Linked DNA regions of Homo sapiens: regions 1 and 3 are each linked to region 2. The links are contacts of gene promoters, found by promoter capture Hi-C in blood cells and fetal thymus (Javierre and others, 2016). All regions are on one chromosome and are shown on one strand. The core of a region is centred on a gene start or on the middle of the fragment in contact, and the rest is flanking DNA. Distances in the headings are between cores, read along the strand shown. Region 1 holds the start of CD27-AS1 (CD27 antisense RNA 1). Region 2 holds the start of COPS7A (COP9 signalosome subunit 7A). Region 3 overlaps TNFRSF1A (TNF receptor superfamily member 1A).

Region 1 (2,870 bases), core at 1-2,500, 270 kb before region 2:
TCCTCTTCCAAACCCTTCGCTGACCGCTCGGTCGTCTCAGGCCCTGAGCCCACACCCTCAGCCCACCCACTTACCTTATGTCAGTGGTAAGTTCCAGGCAACTCTCTGTGCCATCACGTGGGGTAGCGGTGATACCCCAACCAGTACTCCCCACTCCTACCCCTAGATAAGGTCAGCCTGTTTCTGCCTTCCCATCCCATCCAGCACCTCTCAGGCCTTCAGATGTGCCCTATGGGGTCCCCTGCTGCTACTCATTCTGTCTCTGTTTTTCCAGAGATGCTGGAGGCCAGGACAGCTGGGCACATGCAGACTCTGGCTGACTTCAGGCAGCTGCCTGCCCGGACTCTCTCTACCCACTGGCCACGTGAGTTTTCTCCTTAATCCCCACCGCTAGAGAGAATGCATACACGAGGGGCCAGGAGGGAAGCCAGACAGAAAGCTCCTAGGATTAGGGATAAGAGGAGGGGAAAAAGCAGAGTCCACTGTTTAGGAGAGGAGTTGGCCAACGGTGGCGGGTGGGATAGAATAAGGTGGGGGAAAGGGGAGAGGCAAGGTGACAGGAGGGCTGGGCTGAGGGAGCCAAGGGCTAGACCCTCCCCTAACCCCTGTGTGTCCCCTCCTATTACAGCCCAAAGATCCCTGTGCAGCTCCGATTTTATTCGCATCCTTGTGATCTTCTCTGGAATGTTCCTTGTTTTCACCCTGGCCGGGGCCCTGTTCCTCCATCAACGAAGGAAATATAGATCAAGTAAGAGACAGAACACAGGCCTCCGGTCCTGCCCCTGCACCACACCCCACTGGCTCAACCCCACTGCCCACGCCTGGAATCTCACTGAAACCCACCAGCTCCACTTCACCAGCCTTGGTCCTACCCCTTCTCTCCCCTTAGCTGGCGTGCTCCTGACACCCCTCCCCCAAGCGCACCCGCCTCTACCCATCTCCTTCTCCCGTCTCCCCCTGCCCCCACTGCTGGCCAAGACTCATCGGATCTCCTTCTGCAGACAAAGGAGAAAGTCCTGTGGAGCCTGCAGAGCCTTGTCATTACAGCTGCCCCAGGGAGGAGGAGGGCAGCACCATCCCCATCCAGGAGGATTACCGAAAACCGGAGCCTGCCTGCTCCCCCTGAGCCAGCACCTGCGGGAGCTGCACTACAGCCCTGGCCTCCACCCCCACCCCGCCGACCATCCAAGGGAGAGTGAGACCTGGCAGCCACAACTGCAGTCCCATCCTCTTGTCAGGGCCCTTTCCTGTGTACACGTGACAGAGTGCCTTTTCGAGACTGGCAGGGACGAGGACAAATATGGATGAGGTGGAGAGTGGGAAGCAGGAGCCCAGCCAGCTGCGCCTGCGCTGCAGGAGGGCGGGGGCTCTGGTTGTAAAACACACTTCCTGCTGCGAAAGACCCACATGCTACAAGACGGGCAAAATAAAGTGACAGATGACCACCCTGCAGCTCTCCAGCTTCCTCTCTGAAATCCCAGTCCCAAAATCCAGTTTCCTGGCCGCCTCCTGGCTCAGGTCAGGATCTGGCAGAGGAGGTTTCTCAGCCGGTTATGTTGGGGCCTGCTTAAGGGCGGGGGTGAGAAAGGTCCCCAGGCTACTGTGGATCCTGTGTCTGACTTCAGATCCCCTTTTCCCACAGTTATAGCTCCACTTTTTTGGGACAGGTGGGGAGCAAAAGGGTGCAGAGGTCAGGTCTTGAAATCACCAGGGGATTTCCGGGTGAGGTGGGTGGTGAGAAAGGAAACAGCAAGCAGGGCTCTGGCAGCTGCTGCAGACGGCTTCACACAGGGACGCGGGCTGCCATCTTGCTCTAAGTGAAAGTGAAAGAAAAGTCGGCAGCAGAGGGAACAGGGAAGAAACCTAAAGGCTGCAGGCTGCCAGGTGTGCTTGGAGAGCCCCCTTCTTCCGCCGGGCCTCGCAAGCAGCGTAGGACTGTGGAGAAGGGCGGTGGGCAAGGAGGGAACTCGAGAGCAGCCTCCATGGGCACACAGGAGGGCTGGTGCCTGCTGCTCTGCCTGGCTCTATCTGGAGCAGCAGAAACCAGTGAGTCTGGGAGTCGGGGAGAGCTGGCTGGGAGAAGAGCTACTGAAGCCCCAGGGTGCCACCCTCCCCGAGATTCCAGAAGAGCAAAGGGGCCGGGGATGACCCCATCGCCTTCTAAGCCCAACAGGGGAAAGGCTCAGCGGCTGGCAAAGGAAGGAACCAATAGTGTGTGTGGAGGGAGGGTGGGGACTCCACAGGGAAAATGCTAAAGAGGGGCTGCCTCTGTGGCTGTGGTCAGGAGCCACTGTCCTACAGAGAGGGCACTGGCCTGGGAGCTGACACTTCAGAAGAGGAAAGGACTCCCCAGGTGAGGAAATCACTTGGAAGGTGACCTTGAAGGCGGGGGAGGGGAAGGCTACCCGAAATGGGAGAAAGCAGTGCAGGCTGTCAGTGCCCCAGCAACAGTAACTGTCCAGTCTCCTCTCTCTGCGGTGGCACTTGCTTGTTTTCTGAGAATTCCTTTGACTGAAAAGATAGTCTTTTATTCAACAGTTGGAAATGCAAGCATAAACTCCTCTGAGCAAGGCAAATCCAGGACTTTAACTCTCACCAAGAAGTATTTGCCTGGACTAGCAGGTGCTCTCCAGAAAGCTGGTTTGGGGATGACGGGAGAATAGAGGGACACAGAAACAGCTAGGATCTTGGATGGCAACTTTTACCCTTTGATGACTCCACAGCTTGAGGGCGGGGGCAGGAAGCAAGTGTGGAGTAGCTTTCTGGGGAAGGCGGTGCTCACCCCAGCCTTTGTCTGCAGAGCCCCACCCAGCAGAGGGGCAGTGGCGGGCAGTGGACGTGGTCCTAGACTGCTTCCTGGCGAAGGACGG
Region 2 (2,758 bases), core at 239-2,738:
TTAGCCGGGCGTAGTGGCGGGCGCCTGTAGTCCCAGCTATTCGGGAGGCTGAGGCCAGAGAATGGCGTGAACCCGGGAGGCGAAGCTTGCAGTGAGCCGAGATCGCGCCACTGCACTCCAGCCTGGGCGACAGAGCGAGACTCCGTCTCAAATTAAAAAAAAAAAAAAAAGATAAGCTTGGGGCGGGGAGGGGTGGATGCAAAATAATAATAATAATGTTTGGACTCATTAATTCCTTGCTTCCTTCAAACTCTGAATATTTTATTATGCCTTTGATTCCTTCTACTCACTTTTGTTTCACCTTTTCCATTCATTTCTTCTTCTCCTCTTCCTCCTTTCTCTTTCCTTTCTGTGTTTCTGCTTATTTTCTATCACAAACCAAAATATGCGGACCATAAACTGCATCTGCAGTTCCTTTAGCCCTAACAGACTACGAGTCCTATTTCTCTTTATCTTTCTCTTTTTCACTTTCTTGTCTTTCCATTACTTACAAGTTTCTTAATTTTCCTGAGTTCAGTTTTTCCATCTGGAAAGTGGAGATAACAATTACTAGATCGTTGTATCAGATGAATTAAGTAATGCTCATGGCTTAACACAAAGGCCAAGATGTCATTAACTTTACCCTCACTTGACCTTCTGCAAGCCTGTTGTGAAATATAAAACACTATAGAAATGTTAGTTGTTTTTGTTTTTATTAAAGTATCATATTGAAGTAGAAAGATGGTTTTGAGTTTGAAAAGCTCCAGATAAATCCTTGGATTTTTATGAGCCTCAATTTCCTTTTCTGTAAAATGAGAACCACATAGGGTTTTTTCCTCCCCAAGAAATTAAGAGTCCATGTACTGAAAGCATCATTCTACAAGTATTAATACATATGTAGTAATCATGGTAGAGGGTGTCCTGAAGTCACAGGGGAATATTTGTGAGGATTCAACGGAATAAAATTTTAAAAGATGTCTGACCAATAGTAAGCACTCAATACATGTTAGCTTTATTCTCTCTTTTATTTTTCTCGCTTCTTTTCTCCTGCTCTTCAAAAAAGTGAGTGGTTGAACCACCTAGGTGATCTCTGCTGCTAAACTTCTATTATTGATTTTTGTTTGCTTCCTCTCTGCCCCTTGTTTCCTCATCCCGTTTTTTTCCCTCTTCTTCACTCCTTCCGTTACAGCTTTTCTCTTGCCTCAGGTACCCAGTGCAGTCCTGATCTCCAGCTCTCCAGCGGCTTAGAACAGACACAGAATGGGCCGGGACCAGGGACCCACCAGAGACGTCTGTAGTTAATAGCTGGCGCTCTTCCACTAATAAAGTTTTATTGAAATAAAGCATTTAAAAAGGCGCCCGTCATTCTTCCCCCAGCGACCAATCGAAGAGTAGAATGCCTGCGTCCCTCACTGGAGCTTCAGCGGTCGGAACGCGGGGGTGGGGCATGTCCTGCCGAAATTTGCGTCCTTAGAGCGGAAGTACGGCCGGAAGCCCGCCATAGAGTTTAGTGGCCAGAGCGACTCTTCAGGGAGGTGGCAGGAAAGGCTTGGAACAGCTGCCGGAGGTGACGGAGCGGCGGCCCCGCCCGGTGCGCTGGAGGTCGAAGCTTCCAGGTAGCGGCCCGCAGAGCCTGACCCAGGGTACGACGAAGCAGTCGGCGGGAGCCCACGGTCGCTGGGCGGTGTCTTTAAGGGAGGGGGCGGAGCCACGTGTAAGCTTCAATGGGGGTGAGGTCACGTGGTTGTGGGCGCGTGCGGGGCAGCAATGGAGAGCTGAGGGAGCGTCGTCAGGGTGGACACCATGCGACACCCATTTCTCCTTTGCATCCTGTGTCTTGGGGTTCAATGGGGTGCACGTGATGGGGCTTGGGGTTAGGCCCAGGGGAGGGGGTGGGTGTGGCAGCCTTGCGAAGTGGCTGACTTTAGGATTCCTAGATCAGAATTTTAGACCGCTCCATGTCTGATTCCTCACCGCAGAACCGACTTAGTGCCTTTACAATCCAGTCCCTCAGCCTTGTGCTTCCCATCCGACCAGCCATCGGGGACCTCTAGCTTCACATCCTCTTTCCTTGCAGCTCTGGACATCCTGAGCCCAAGTCCCCCACACTCAGTGCAGTGATGAGTGCGGAAGTGAAGGTGACAGGGCAGAACCAGGAGCAATTTCTGCTCCTAGCCAAGTCGGCCAAGGGGGCAGCGCTGGCCACACTCATCCATCAGGTGCTGGAGGCCCCTGGTGTCTACGTGTTTGGAGAACTGCTGGACATGCCCAATGTTAGAGAGGTGGGTTGCTGGCTTGAATAGCCCTCAGAGAAGCGTGGGCAAAGGTTTGAATTTGAGAATGGGTGGGCAGGGCTCATTTTGTGATCCAATAACCATTCAGTTGAACAAGAAAACAGTGATAATTAAATGCCAACTTGCAGAAGTAACCAGTGAACAAGCAAACCAGCTCTCCTTTGGAGATAAGGGATCTGTAAAGCCCACTATTTTTCATTTTAAGCAAAAGAGCATCCTATTCAGAATAGGAAACCTGATTTCCAGCCGGTCTCCACCAGTGTAGTAGCTGTTAATTCTCATGTCACCTTGATCAGGTCACTTTTGTTTTAGGGCTTCAGCTTTCTCTTTTTTTTTTTTTTTTTGAGACGGAGTCTTGCTCTGTCACCCAGGCTGGAGTGCAGTGGCGTGATCTCAGCTGAGTGCAAGCTCTGCCTCCTGGGTTCACGCCATTCTCCTGCCTCAGCCTCCTCAGTAGCTGGGACTACAGGCGCCCGCCACCATGC
Region 3 (2,859 bases), core at 259-2,758, 390 kb before region 2:
TGAAGAGGAGGGATAAAAGGCAAAGACCAAAGAAAATGACCAGGGGCAACAGCACTGTGGTGCCTGCAGACAAAGCAGGTGTTGGTCAGAGGAGCGGGCAGAGGGGGGCCGCAGGGATAGATGGATGGGTGGGATGGATGGACGGGTGGGGGCAAGAAGAGGGAGAGGGCAGGTGAGCATGGGCACCAGGTCACTTCTCCTCACCTGAGTCCTCAGTGCCCTTAACATTCTCAATCTGGGGTAGGCACAACTTCGTGCACTCCAGGCTTTTCTTACAGCTAAAAGAAGAGACGGCACTGGTGAACAGAGGCCCTACCATTGGAGGAACACAGAAAAACAACCACACAGATTGTTGGACATCCTTTCTTTACAAATATTTTTGCTGTCTCTTGATATAATTTGTTTTGGGAACTGATGCAGAAGAATGAAACACAGTTAATCATAGAATCATTTAATTTTAGAATTGGCAGGGATCTTGAAAAGGCTGTGTAGAAAATGTGAAAAGCAGTCAGGGTCAGGGTGTAAATTCCAGTTCATTCCTTGGCTAGCAGTGTGAATCTAGGCAAGCCATTAACCCCCAAGCCTCGGTTTCCTCATCACCACAGGGATCGCCCACCTCTCAGGATTGAGGATTAAGCAAAATCATTATGCCTCATTTAATAAGTGCTTGAGAAGGTAGCCAGCTAGCTGTTATGGGATTGTTGTTTCATCACTGTTTTGCTGATAAGAATCCTTTGGCAAAGAGAGGTTAAAGGGCTTTTTCTTAAATGACACTGCTAGTTACAGTACCTGACTTCGGGGAGTCGGGGTCAAACATGCATGTGAAAAATTTAAAAACACATGTTACTGGGGCAGCCAGAGAGCACCCTGTAGAACTAGCAGATCTTCCATGTTGGGAGTTGTCACTGGACAGTGTGGAGTGATGGGAACTCTATGGGGTGGTGCTGGAAGGAACTTGAGAGAGTGAGTTCCCAGCAGGAAGCTGAAAGCAGGGAGAGGCACTTTAGCCCACCACTCAAGCTCATGGTGAGAACCACATAGAATGGTATAAAAGTGATTTCAAGAAGAGATGAAGCCGGCTGGGTGCAGTGGCTCACGGCTGTAATCCCAGCACTTTGGGAGGCAGAGGCAGGTGGATCACCAGGAGTTTGAGACCAGCCTGACCAAGATGGTGAAACCCCATCTCTACTAAAAATACAAAAATTAGCCAGGCATGGTGGCACGTGCCTGTAATCCCAGCTACTTGGGAGGCTGAAGCAGGAGAATTGCTTGAATCTGGGAGGCAGAGGTTGCAGTGAGCCGAGATCGCGCCACTGCATTCCAGCCTGGGCGACAGAGCAGGACTCTGTGTCAAAAAAAAAAAAAAAAAAAAAAAAGAAGATTAATGGAAAATAAATAGTTTTGTGTCAGACGTGTTGTAGGTTTTGTTTGTTTCTTTGTTTTTGGTTCTCACAAATTCACCAAATGAATGTCATTATGCTTACTTTAAATATAAGAAATCTAAGGCCCAGGCCAGGCGTGGTGGCTCATGCCCGTAATCCTAGCACTTTGGGAGGCTGAGGCGGAAGATCGCTTGAGCCCAGGAGTCCGAGGCCAGCCTGGGCAATATAGTAGGACCCTGTCTCTACAAAAAGTAAAACATTAGCTGGGTGTAGTGGTGTGTGCCTCTAATCCCAGCTACTCAGGAGGCTAAGGCAAGAGGATGGCTTGAGCCCTGGAGGTGGAGGCTGAGCCACGGTTGCACCACTGCACTCCAGCCTGGGTGACAGAGTGAAACCCTGTCTCAAAAAAAAAAAAAAAAAAAAAACACCAAAAGAAAAGTCAGGCTCAGAGATGTTAAGAAACTTGCCCAACGTCACATAGCCAGTAAGTGGCTATGCTGGGGTTCAAACTCTGAGAGCCCTCAGAGTTTATTCTTTGCAAGTGAGTGACAAGAACAGCCTCTGTGGAGCCAGGAGTAAGGAGGCCTGGACAGTGACTAATGAGGAAATACCATATTGCATCAAACCTAAGACGCCATCAAGAATAAAAGGCACTTTTCTTTACATTACTACCCAGACGCAAACAGAGCTGCCAATTCAACCATGATGAGTCACCAGTTATAGGAGGTTTGATTTCAGAGCTATAAGAGTGTATGTCCTAGAACCAATGAGCTATCGTAGATCCAAGAATCTACATATCTGAGTTGGAAGGGCTGCCAGCCCTTGGGGCATGATCTTCCATCCTCAAAGACTTCTTCAGATTTGAAGAGCAAGGGGAAGGACTGCCTGGTGTCTTAACGAAGTGTCTCCTACTCAGCCAGTAGGACCCTGAGCACTCTGGGGCATCCTGGCATCTGTTGCCCAGCTAATGGTTCCCACCAGTCACCCGTCCCAACCCATGCCACCATCCAGTGCCCAGCAGCTCTCAGAGATACTCACTTACTACAGGAGACACACTCGTTTTCTCTTAGAAAGAAACCTGCATGGCAGGTGCACACGGTGTTCTGTTTCTCCTGGCCTGTAGGGAGAAGTGCGGCACAGCTAAAGGAGAAGCGCCTGCACCCCCACCCCACAGGACAGAGGAAGTGACGAGGGACAGGGTGGGGGCGGCCAGAGAGGAGTTGGTTGTCAGACCCACAGAATACAGGAGGGGGAAGGAAAGGAAGTGCCACCGCATGGGGAAGGGGCCAACCCCTGGGGTGGGGAGAGGGCTTGGCCTCAGGAGAGCTGCGCTCACAGGAGAGGTGCACGGTCCCATTGAGGCAGAGGCTGCAATTGAAGCACTGGAAAAGGTTTTCACTCCAATAATGCCGGTACTGGTTCTTCCTGCAGCCACACACGGTGTCCCGGTCCACTGTGCAAGAAGAGATCTCCACCT

Evidence for each region. The method cuts DNA at HindIII sites, captures the fragments that hold promoters and counts their contacts. A CHiCAGO score of 5 or more calls a contact.
Region 1: a contact is called between the fragment with the promoter of CD27-AS1 here and the fragment with the promoter of COPS7A in region 2, in 3 of 17 cell types (naive B cells, naive CD4 T cells and total B cells). The highest score is 5.6, in naive B cells.
Region 3: a contact is called between a fragment that was not itself captured here and the fragment with the promoter of COPS7A in region 2, in 1 of 17 cell types (total CD4 T cells). The highest score is 5.4, in total CD4 T cells.

The regions. Positions count from the first base shown.
Region 1 is chr12:6,450,267-6,453,136 of GRCh38, forward strand. It overlaps CD27-AS1 (CD27 antisense RNA 1), which reads right to left and starts at 1,251. Exons shown (of 6, transcript NR_015382.2): 1 at 75-1,251. CD27 (CD27 molecule) reads left to right here. Exons shown (of 6, transcript NM_001242.5): 3 at 1-86; 4 at 275-364; 5 at 629-748; 6 at 1,002-1,447. The coding sequence ends at 1,126. It overlaps TAPBPL (TAP binding protein like), which reads left to right and starts at 1,776. Exons shown (of 7, transcript NM_018009.5): 1 at 1,776-2,046; 2 at 2,801-2,870. The coding sequence starts at 1,983. RefSeq lists enhancers at 586-795, 886-1,045, 1,476-2,075. The HindIII fragment of the contact is 9,942 bases long and covers 1-2,870 here.
Region 2 is chr12:6,722,558-6,725,315 of GRCh38, forward strand. It overlaps COPS7A (COP9 signalosome subunit 7A), which reads left to right and starts at 1,489. Exons shown (of 8, transcript NM_001164094.2): 1 at 1,489-1,622; 2 at 2,057-2,261. The coding sequence starts at 2,100. RefSeq lists enhancers at 1,414-1,623, 1,654-1,793, 1,924-2,143. The HindIII fragment of the contact is 1,412 bases long and covers 175-1,586 here.
Region 3 is chr12:6,330,649-6,333,507 of GRCh38, forward strand. TNFRSF1A (TNF receptor superfamily member 1A) reads right to left here. Exons shown (of 10, transcript NM_001065.4): 4 at 2,719-2,859; 5 at 2,421-2,499; 6 at 205-278; 7 at 1-63. Among named protein-coding and RNA genes, the nearest start is that of TNFRSF1A, 10 kb to the right of the region's middle. The HindIII fragment of the contact is 4,278 bases long and covers 1-2,859 here.